3 separate regions of the Homo sapiens genome follow, and all the other regions are linked to region 3. Evidence: promoter capture Hi-C in human tissues and cell types (Jung and others, 2019). All regions are on one chromosome and are shown on one strand. Each heading gives the region's core, a stretch centred on a gene start or on the middle of the fragment in contact. The rest is flanking DNA. Distances are from core to core; before and after follow the strand shown.

The links. Contacts are between HindIII fragments. The study calls those that stand out against the background at their distance.
Region 1: a fragment that was not itself captured here is called in contact with the fragment with the promoter of SLC26A6 in region 3 in 1 of the 25 tissues and cell types used here (IMR-90 fibroblasts).
Region 2: a contact is called between a fragment that was not itself captured here and the fragment with the promoter of SLC26A6 in region 3, in 1 of the 25 tissues and cell types used here (liver).

What each region holds. Positions count from the first base shown.
Region 1 is chr3:48,281,626-48,285,328 of GRCh38, reverse strand. No RefSeq gene overlaps it. Among named protein-coding and RNA genes, the nearest start is that of NME6, 18 kb to the left of the region's middle. The HindIII fragment of the contact is 8,358 bases long and covers 1-3,703 here.
Region 2 is chr3:48,931,840-48,935,905 of GRCh38, reverse strand. All of the region lies in intron 3 of ARIH2 (ariadne RBR E3 ubiquitin protein ligase 2), which reads right to left. Among named protein-coding and RNA genes, the nearest start is that of ARIH2OS, 14 kb to the right of the region's middle. The HindIII fragment of the contact is 3,938 bases long and covers 1-3,472 here.
Region 3 is chr3:48,633,897-48,637,376 of GRCh38, reverse strand. It overlaps SLC26A6 (solute carrier family 26 member 6), which reads left to right and starts at 1,916. Exons shown (of 21, transcript NM_022911.3): 1 at 1,916-2,006. The coding sequence starts at 1,984. CELSR3 (cadherin EGF LAG seven-pass G-type receptor 3) reads left to right here. Exons shown (of 35, transcript NM_001407.3): 35 at 1-914. RefSeq lists silencers at 1,708-1,987, 2,378-2,477. The HindIII fragment of the contact is 9,287 bases long and covers 1-2,878 here.

The DNA.
Region 1 (3,703 bases), core at 1,076-3,575, 350 kb after region 3:
TCAAACCAAGAATGATTAAAATTGAGAAATTCCAACAGTTCCCCCACCCCCAAAAGTAGAGGCCAGAATTCTCATGCAATTGAGTCAGAGAATTCTGGCATTGGGAGTGAGAAGGGTAAGATATAATCTCTCTGAAAAGCATTTCAGTCATTTATAAACCTCTGTGATTCAAAGTTTTCTCATTATAAATGGGGATGTCAGTGTCTTCCTAAGGCTTCACACTTCTCATTTTAGGTCCTGGGAGAGAAGATAGCTCCTCCCATCCCTCTTAGAGCATTTTACAGAAGCAGGTAGTTTGTGTTGGTTTGTCTTCTGGTTAGCCATTGAAGATTTGTAACTCATGGGACTGGGAACTGTGAGCCAAGACTGGTATTTTAGGTTTCCTATAGGTTTGCCTGTCCCTACAAAGGTAATACAGATGCTCCTCAGCTTAACAATGAGGTTACATCCGGATAAACCCATCTTAAATTGAAAATACTATAAGACAAAAATGCATTTAATACACCTAAACTACTGGACATCATAGCTTAGCCTCGCCTACCTAAACGTGCTTAGAACACTTACATTAGGCCAGGCACGGTGGCTCATGCCTATAATCCCAGCACTTTGGGAGGCTGAGATGGGCAGATCACTTGAGGCCAGGAGTTCGAGACCAGCCTGGGCAACATGGTGAAACCCTGTCTCTACCAAAAATATATATATAAGCTGGGTGTGGTGGCACGTTCCTGTAGTCCCAGCTACTTGGGAGGCTGAGGTGGGAGGATTGCTTCAGCCCTGGAGAAGGTTGCAGTGAGCCAAGATTGCACCACTGCACTCCAGCCTGAGTGACAGAGTGAGACACTGCCACAAAAGCAAACAAACAAACAAAATACTAGTCTATGGTTGGGCAAAATTATCGGGCAGCACAGTGAACTGTAGCGTCCATCGTTTACCCTTGTAACGTGTGGCTGCCTGGGAGCTATGGCTCACTGCCACTGCCCAGCATCATGAGAGTATCACATTGCATATTGCTAGCCTGGGAAAAGATCAAAATTCAAAATTCTAAGTACAGTTTCTACTGAGTACTATAATTTTCATACCATCATAAAGTTGAAAAATGGAAGTCAAACCACTGTAAGTGGGGGACTTTCTGTGCTATGGATGACTGGGTGGTAACCGGGTCTCTGGCAGTGCAACCACAGTTGAGTGGCTTTTTTCTCTCTCAAAATAACATCTCTTCCCAGATACTAGACATGTTTTTCCTAAATAGTCTCAATCTGGGACGTTCGTATCTTATCCATGGCTCTGACCCCCAACTCTTTCCCATCTTTGGATGTTCCAGGTGGGGTTTCCCTACAAATTTCCAATGTAAAGAAACCTCACCCACAAATTTTAGATGATCCTGTAAGTGAAAAATGGCAAGAAAATGGAGAACTTGGATTTAAGGAAACAAAGACAATGAGTATAGACTGTTAAGTTTAATTATGACTTAAGGAGAAATATGTCAAGTTTAGGGAAATTTGGCAACTTATGGACATTTTGAAGGACTGGTAAAATACAAATTGATTTATAGGCTCTAGTTCTTTGCCAAAAGAGAGGAACAGAGGATACAGGAGAGTAAGAAGACAACTGAGATTATGAGTTCCCACAGAATATAAATTTGAAAGGGAACCCTCCCAACACAAATTATAATTCAGGTGAGAGCTCTTCCTCTGGTTTAGTGGTCCCAGGAGTCACAGGCTTACACTTGTCTCAATAGCTCTTGTGTCTATGTGATATGGTTTGGCTGTGTCCCCACCCAAATCTCATCTTGAATTGTAGCTCCCATAATTCCTACATGTTGTGGGAGGGACCTGGTGGGAGGTAATTGAATCTTGGGTTGGGTCTTTCCTGTGCTATTCTTGTGACAGTAAGTAAGTCTCATAAGACCTGATGGTTTTATAAACGGAATTTCCCCTATGCAAGCTCTCTTGCCTGCCACCATGTAAGACATGACTTTGCTCCTCATTTGCCTTCAGCCATGATTGTGAGGCCTCCCCAGCCATGTGAACTGTGAGTCAATTCAACTTCTTTTCTTTATAAATTGCCCAGTCTCAGGTATGCTTTACTAGCAGCATGAGAACAGACTAATACACTACGCTTCAAGGCCTCCCAAAAGCAGAGCATGAGATGGCGACTTGTGTGCAAGTAGTTTATTTTAGGAAGGGGTCTCAGAAAACAGGCATCAGGACACTAAGAGAGTAAAAGAAAGGAGAAGGGAAGGCCATCCCAAGCATAGGGTATTGAGCTGGTTACCACTGTGGACAATGGGCTTCAATCTAGTTGGTGGTCCTCTGTCTCCCACCAAAGCCTAGGAGGCTGGTTGTTTGTCCAATGGTTTCATCATCCGTTGTCAGTGATTTGCCAGGGAGACCTAACCCATTTGCAGTCCCAGACTTGCATATGCCAGAAAGGCTGAGGGGCTCTTGCAGGCTTCCCACACTGCATCAGCAGAGAAGCTCCTAGAAGGAGCATGAGAGAAACGGTGAGGAGGTCTTTGATTTCACCTGAGTGCAGCTACGGTCAGGGTAGGAATGTGGGCCAAGAGGACGTGAGATGGGGCATAAAAGTTGTTCAGTGCCATCCTCCCCTGCCTGTGTTTGGGTCTGCCCATGCGCCAGCTCTGCATGTAGCTCAGCATATCAGAGAGTCAGGCAAGAACCTAGTGAGCCGCGATCTCTACTTAAGACTCAATATAAGTGGATTAGTGGAAAAGATAACATTTCCCACCATTACAACTGGGCCTGAAGCCATAATTGATTCTTATTACCTCCCTCCTTTATCAACCATATTATAGTTCCTGCCCCCAGAGCCAACCTTTACAGGTCGAAGATGCTTACCTACTGGGAAAACAGACTTTCACTTCCAAGAGGTCAGATCCCTTAGCTGACTTACCCTGATAGAGAGCTGCGATTGCTGCAAGTGCCCACTGATGGTTATGCCTGGGTATGGAAGCATTCACAGAACCTCCTGGGTTCAGATATACTTGAGTAGCAACATCACCAATGCATGATAATCAGGGTCAATGACCTACGTAAGTATAATGGCTCCTCCCTTTTCCTGCCAGCCTACCATCGTGGGAAAGCCAGAATGACCAAGTTAGTAACAACATTAGTTTAGCAGACACTGCCTGTGCTCTTTGGTAGAAACATCTCCCCACTCTGCCCCCACTAACAAGGAATTCTAAGCTGGAAGGATCCAATGTTCCAGGGATAAGAAGTACAAATGTTTACCAGGTACTATTTCTGCAGTGCCTTATCATAGAGGTTTCCAGCTTGGAAAATGTCAATAGGCCACGTTGTAATCCTCACCTGAGAGGTCTCTGGAGATGGGTCTGGTGTAGCAGACACCTAAATCTTGCTTGTATCAGAATTCGAATTTTTTTTTTTTTTTGAGACAGAGTCTTGCTCTGTCGCCAAGGCTGGAGTGCAGTGGCATGATCTCGGCTCACTGCAACCTCTGCCTCCTGAGTAGTGATTCTCCTGCCTCAGCCTCCTGAGTAGCTGGGATTACAGGTGCCAGCCACCTCGCCTGGCTAATTTTTGTATTTTTAGTAGAGATAGGGTTTCACCATGTTGGCCAGGCTGGTCTCGAACTCCTGATCTCAGGTGATCGACCCACATCAGCCTTCCAAAGTGCTGGGATTACAGGCATGAGCCACCACACCAGGCCAGAATTAGTCAGA
Region 2 (4,066 bases), core at 254-2,753, 300 kb before region 3:
CACACTCAGACGCACCAGTCAGCAATACATTGCCCAGAACCATCCTCAATGTGTAGGCTCCTACCCTATGATTCAAGACACACAACCCTGAGAATGTGTTTTAAGGAACCAAGACAAATAACACTCCCATCCTTCCACTTTTGCCCCGCTTCTACCATGACCAAGCAAAATCGATTTGAACATTCATGTTCCAGGCACTTTATCTGCATTATCATCACATTTAATGTTGTGAAGGAGGTGTTATCATTATTTTACAGATGAGGAAACTCAAGCATAGAGATGCTGACAGACTTATCTGAGGTCATATTATATTAAATGGAAAAAATGGGACTGGAACCCAATCATCTGACCACTAGCCCAGACTCTGGACAAGGCCCAACAGACATAAAAGTCATATCCATAAAGACATTCACAACAATGTAACCAGTCCCCCAACAACTGTAATACATAGGTACTCACTTAAATGCCCAATGCAGAAAGCTTAAGCAAATTACAGTTCAAAAACAAGATGGCATGCTACACAGCCATTTAAAGTATTTATGAGGACAAAGTAAAAATGGGGAAATGTTTGAAATATACATGAAAAAAGCAGAATGCATAAAATACATATATCTACTGATTATTATAATGCAATGTCTACCAGGGCAGAGATTTTTGTCTGTTTTGTTTACAGTTATTTTTCCTGTTATGTGCCTGGCACAGGAACATAACAGGAGGCGTAGTAGGTTCTCAATAAATACCCAATATTGGTTGAATGAAATACTGAACAATAATGCTATGTATGAATATGGACAAGAGCTGAAGGATGATAAGCAAGCAAGAAAACTTATTTTAGGTTAATGAAAACATGAATGATATTATTTTCTTAAATACTGTAGTAACATCTTGACAAAAAAATTTATAAACTCAAGATTAAAATATAAATGTCAAAAAAAAACAAACACACACAAATACCGTATCACCCCTTGATTACACATGACTTCCATGTTTCCTGAGGTAGACAGAAAGCACAACAAAAAGACTAGAATGAAAGCTGGCCTTGAATCTGATGAAGAGCTTCTTTTCTGGAAGATGATGAGCATGTTTTGTATGGTATCAGGTACACAGCGATGACAATAACTTTTCTAAGCTGGCAAGACAAGGACATCTTTGCACCATTTGTATTTAGGCCATTCTCAATGTCACTCTGGACATTTCTCATCGCCTTTTAAAAATGAATTTACACATCAGTAAACACACCTCAGACTTCTGGACTAAAACACTGTGAAACATGTTAACAAACCTATTAACGGCCAGCTATTTGAAACGCAGGAATTTAACCTAAGTTCTACTTAGATAGAGGCATGCAAAGACAGCTCACATCAGATCACAAAAATAGAAATCAGAGGGCTGCTCAGCACACAAACACTCAGTGTAACCAGGCCCAGCTTGAAGATACTTTCCCATGAGTAGTAGCAACAATAATAACAACAACAACAACAAACCATTATTGGTCAATTAATGACTGTAAGTAAATAAAAATAGAATGATCTTAAAATTCAGCTATATCAGAATAAAAGAAAATTGATTTAATAATTAAAGTTTTCACCAGATACTTGTTATCTTTTAACTTGGCATTATATAAGTATTTAGTACCAATTAAGAAAATGGCTAAAATAATGTATTTTGTTGTTATGAACACCAATTGATCACGTTACAAGTGAAAAAGGCAAAAAAGCCAGGTTGTTTTGAACACAGGACTATAAAGACTTCGGCACTTAAGAGTCAGAAGCCCTGACAACTCATTACTATTCATCTACAGAGGGGAAAAATTATCCACAGCAGAATCTTAGAGAGATTTTCCAGTCACATTTTGCTAAAGAGCAAACACCAGATTTTTAAAAAAATTCACAAAAGAGTATGGCAGAATAGAGTGTTCTAGGAAATATTTTCATAGCTTTACTGCAGTTAATACAGCAATTCATAAAGCAAGAAGAAATGTAGTAAAAACATTTGTGATAATTGGCATATTTCTCCAATCCTATCTGGGGAACAGGCTTAAAAAGTGAGCAATAGGGACAGGCGCGGTGGCTCACACCTGTAATCCCAGCACGTTGGGAGGCTGAGGCGGGTGGATCATGAGGTCAGGAGATCGAGACCATCCTGGCAAACAAGGTGAAAGCCCGTCTCTACTAAAAATACAAAAAAATTTAGCCGGGTGTGGTGGCGGGCACCTGTAGTCCCAGCTACTTGGGAGGCTGAGGCAGGAGAATGGTATGAACCCGGTAGGCGGAGCTTGCAGTGAACCGAGATCGTGCCACTGCACTCCAGCCTGGGTGACACAGCGAGAGTCCGTCTCAACTAAAAAAAAAAAAAAAAAAAAAAGTGAGCAATATACTTCACTATGCCACACATGTGCTGAATAAGTTTTAAAAATCTATTTAAATACCTATTTAAAATCCTAGGCTCAGTGTGGTGGCTCACGCCTGTAACCCCAGCACTTTGGGAGGCTGAAGTGGGTGGATTGTCTGAACTCTGGAGTTTGAGACCAGCCTGGGTAACATGGCAAAACCCCGTCTCTACCAAAAACACACACACACACACACACACCCCCGGGCATGTGGTGCGCACCTGTGATCACACACACACACACACACACACACACACACACACACACACACACACACACACCCGGGCATGTGGTGCGCACCTGTGGTCCCAGCTATTTGGGAGGCTGAAGTAGGATTGTTTGAGCCTGGGAGTTGGAGGCTGCAGTTAGCCAACATCGTGCCACTGCACTCCAACCTGAGTGCCAGAGTGAGGCGCTGTCTCAAAAACAAAAAATCCTATTAAAAACCTATTCCTATAGTTTACAAAACCTATTCCTTTCCACCAACAGCAAAGATGCTTGAGGCTACAATCATAATATTCCTTTCTACCTATACATCTTTGACCCTCATTCCAGCCCAGAAGATAACCCTCCCACTCCCATGCCCATTGCCCTGTGGAGCCAGGACTTCTATAACCTGCATTGCCCTTCTACACCACCTTCAAGGTCCTCTGGCCTCAACACAAAGCTCAGGTAGCTCACTACACCTCCTGGACTAGATCTAGCTCAAAGTGGCCTATTTCTTTCCCCTCCTGAAGCAATGGGGTGGGTCCCTGAACAACATTCACTTCTCCTGCCCACACCCCTAACATGATGCTAAGATGAGGGCACTAGGAGAAAAAGACTCTTGACCCATCACAAACCAAAGCCAGCTCCACAGTCATGATCCTGCCTGGGCTTTGTCTGGGGCTCTGGCTGAGCCTCTTCCTGAGCAGCTTGTCAGCAAATATCTCAAGAGTTCCATGGAATGGTAATTAAAAGGACTCACTGAATAACTGAAAAAAATTATTGGCTAACTACTGCACATTTTGTAATAAAAATGCTTATGGTTACAAGAAGGACCTCTTTCATCTATAAAGACAAAATAATCTTTGTATAAGTCTCATATAAAAATACACTGTAGAAAAAGGTAACTTTGTTTTCTTTAAAGACTCATACATGATCACTAAAATTACTTATTCCCCAGAGATCCCCTCCTCCTACAACACAACACCTCACTTGGCAATCATTTCATCTCATTTGACTATTCCATTTGTGATTTGTGTAGGATAGTTCATTCTCAAATAATGCTTCTGTTTTGCCACTATTTGAATGCCAGCAGCTTCCCCACCACACTAACAGATAAGCATTTTCTCTGTTCTCTATCTTGAGCCCTTGATCTGATTTTCTGGGCACCTTCCTCTCTCAATAATGACTTTACTCATAGACTGGTCCCAGAACATATACAGGAAGTTACCCTCTGACATCAGGGCCCTCATTAAACTAAAAGCCCAGTGTCCCAGACAATTGTGATTTTTCTTTTTCTTTTTTAGACAGAGTCTTGCTCTGTCACCCAGGCTGGAGTACAGTGACACGATCTCAGCTCACTGCAAGCTCCGCCTCCTGGGTTCACGCCATTCTCCTGCCTCAGCCTCCTGAGTAGCTGGGACTACAGGTGCCCACCACCACGCCTGGCTAATTTTTTGTATTTTTAGTAAA
Region 3 (3,480 bases), core at 667-3,166:
CTGACACTGCCCCCTGCTTGAATTGATTCCGAAGGGTAGGGTGGGAAGGTGAGCAAAGGGAGCAGAAACAAGGGAATTCAAGACCCAGAATGTAGGTGCCACTGCCTCCTATGTTTACAGGATCCTCCGTGGCCCTAGGCACCTGGGCTGCAGGAAGTGACTCCGTTCCACTCCTCCTTTATTCCCTTAAAAAGGGAAAAATGACTGTTACGACCCTGTTCACAAAACTCTTACTTTTGCTATTTTGTCTGCTGTCCAGAACTGAAGACTTTAAAATTTTGTTACTGTTTACAAGTCCAGATTCAAAAAATGTTTTTACTTTGTTTACAACTCAAAACTTTGAGTTTTACACTTTGTTTACAGTAGATAATTTTTTTTCCTTTGTTTCCAAGTGAAAGGTAGGGAAAGTGGGAGAGGGACTTGGAGGACCCACCTGTGAGGACCCTGACCTGGCCATCTTGAGGGGTTTTCTAACCCCCAGGTCTCCCAGGCCGAAGGTCAGCCTTGAGTCCCGTTTAACAGCAGATCCAGAAGACCTTGAGAGTAGGCGTCCTCTAACCACGGGGGAGAGTGGCTGTGCAGGGCTGGGGGGTGGTCTGTGCAGACACCTCCTCACCCACCACCCCATGCATACTCTTGGGAAGCAGCTTCCTGGGAGATTAGAAATTCTACTTCCCTGACTGGAGCTAAATCCCACCAGCCAGGACCCAAACTCTCCTTACCGAGAAGGACCCCAGCTCTTGAAGGGCTGAGTGGCCTGCTGGGGGTGGGAGGGTGTCTTTACTATGTCCTAGGTTTCGTAGATGCCCCTCTCTGGGGTTCCCCTCCTCCAGCCCAGCGGCCCTCTTTCCTGTCTGTGTAAATTGTTCCGTGAAGCCGCGCTCTGTTTTGGGAATAAACTTCTATAGAAAACAGTTGTTGCCTTTTCCTGTTGGGGGCTGGGGAGGTAGGATGGAAGCTGTGAATGATTCAAGCCAGACTGACCTTTGGGAGGAATCTGAGCCCCTCCCAAGAATATCCAGCTATTTTTAGCCCATTTCATGGCAGATCTCTTTCACCTTGAAATCTGGCCCCTCACTTTGTAATTGGGGCCTGATGTTGGAGCACAGGTGCTGAAAATAAGGTGCTAAGGAAAACCTCCCCGCTGGTCAAGGCAACGGCAACAGGACTTCCTAATTCTTCAGGGTCTGCAGCCCTGACCCGGCATTTTTTGCCCTCACCTGCGGTGAAACCAACCTGAGGAACTGCTCTTGCAGTTCCTGCCTTGCCCACCCAACAGCACTGACGCCCACCCAACAGCACTGACCCCCACCATTCTCCTCGGCGGCCCGCGCAGTAACCTTCTGGGAGCTACGTCCGGGCTGTGCTTAGTGCAGCGGAGGGGATCCTCCAACCATTTCTGGCCTGGGTGGCCAGAGTTAAAGGGGAGGACTTGGGGACCGTTGGCTCCGGGTCTCAAAGAGATGCGTAGTCGCAGAAAGCCTGCGGGTGGCGCTCTCAGCTGAAGGCAAGAGAGGCCCCACAGACCTGGATCCCCTACGAGTTAAGGCTGGGGTCACCGGCCAGTGGAGTTTCCTTTTCCCACTCCGTGAGCACCTTCCGCCGAGCCAGGACCTGGGATCAGCTCCAACCTACTCAGGGCCTGGGGGCGCGACTGCGGCCAGCCCGGCGCGGGTGCTTAGTTCCAGTTCTGCAGTCCCATCCAGCTCCGGGCAGAGGGCCGGGCGAGCAGCGAGAGGCCTCATAGGCCAGGTCGCCGGGGAGGAAGCGGTTAAATCCTCCTTCTCCAGTCTCTCCCCGCCCGGCGCGCGCCACTTAGGCCCCGCCCCAGCGCGCTGATTGGCCCAAGCCTCCCCGTCCTGCCCCGGGATTAGCCCCCGGGAGAGCGCAGCTGGCCTCACCCGGTCCCGGCGCCGCCTTCCGGAGCGTAGCGGCCTCTAGCTCGAGCAGCAGGAGCAGCCCGCACCGGACAACTTGCGAGCCATGGGGCTGGCGGATGCGTCGGGGTGAGTTCAGCGCACATTCCCGGTGGCCCCGCGCGAGCGCCTCGCTGGAGCAGGCATTCTCCGCTTGCGACGCCTCGCTGGAGCAGGCATTCTCCGCTTGCGACGCCTCGGTTTACCTCTGCTGATTTTCTGCAGGCGGCTGCCCCTCTGCAGCAAGGGGTGGGGGCGGGAGCCGGCGCGACCCCAGTCCCTTGGGCTGTGCGGAAAGCCGCTGGTGTGACGCCCGAGGGCCATCCCGGGCCACAGGGAGGCAGCTGCGTGCGGAGGAGCCCGGCCAGGAGATGTGCCGGCGGGGGTGCGTGGGGCACGGGAGTCCCTGGCAGCGGCCCGTGGACTAGCTGCTTTCAGCTGAGTCCCGAGTCCACCCAGCTCCACTGATCCCGGAGTGAGCGCTCCGGCCTTTCTGGCCCCAGTTGCCTTCCTACAGGGAGGGGCCAATGATCAAGGCTCCGCCCTCCAAACGCGGGTCCCAAGTTGTCGGGGGAGGGAGCCCTTTAAGAAGACCTGAGTGACTCACGTAGGAAAGGAGAGGGGGCTCTACGATCTCCTTGAGATAGCGGTCCCAAGAGTCTCTGAGGATCTTCCTTGCACCCACTCCACACTCCTCCAACAGTACAGCCAGGTTAGAGGCGCTTCCCAGGTGAGTTCCTGTCCCTCAAATGGGATCCTCTCCCCAGGTCAGGGCTTTTCCTAGATCAGAACTTTCCTGACTGGTGAAAGCTTCCCCAACAGGCTAGAGTTTTCCCCCAGGTAAGATCCTTCTGTGAGATCTATTCCCAGGTGACAGCTTTTCCCCATTCCACGTGGGAGCCTCGCCCGAGGTCAGAGCTTTCTCTATGGGAGAGTACCCCCCAGGTGAGAACCCTCTCCCTCTAGGTCTTTTCTTCCCATGTGAGATCTTTCTCTGACTTCAAGTAGGTGCCTCTGGGCAGAGGGAAGATTCCCCCTGTATCAGAACTTGCCAGGCTGATAAAGATTCCCTGGTAGGTCAGAGATCCCTCTAGGTGAGATTCCCCTTGAAAGCTTCTATTCCCAGGTGAGCTCTTTCCCCCACTTCAAGTGGGTACTTCCCTTTCCATGTGGGAGCCTCTCCCTCTAGGTGAGAGATTGCCACTCCAAGAGCAAGCTCCTTCTCAGGTGAGAGCCAGTCCTTGGCTTCCCCATAACAGGCCTGAGCCGTCTACAACCTGGACCCTGGGGCTGGAGGCCCAGGGGCAAGCTTGGCTCCAACACTTTCCTTCCCTTAGAGGGGAGGGTCTCATCTGAGGCCTGAGGCTTGGGAAAGGAGTTGCTTGAGGAGCTGGACCCCTGGTTTGCTGGACCCCTTCCCTGAGTGTGCTCTCAGCCAGCAGTGGGCTCCCGGGGCAGCTGGAGGAGGACCTGGGGACTGGAGAGGGACTGGGTGGGGGAGGGAGCAGCCTGGGACCTGGACTGGTAGAACACTCAGCACTGGGCTGCCACATCTCGGCTGGAG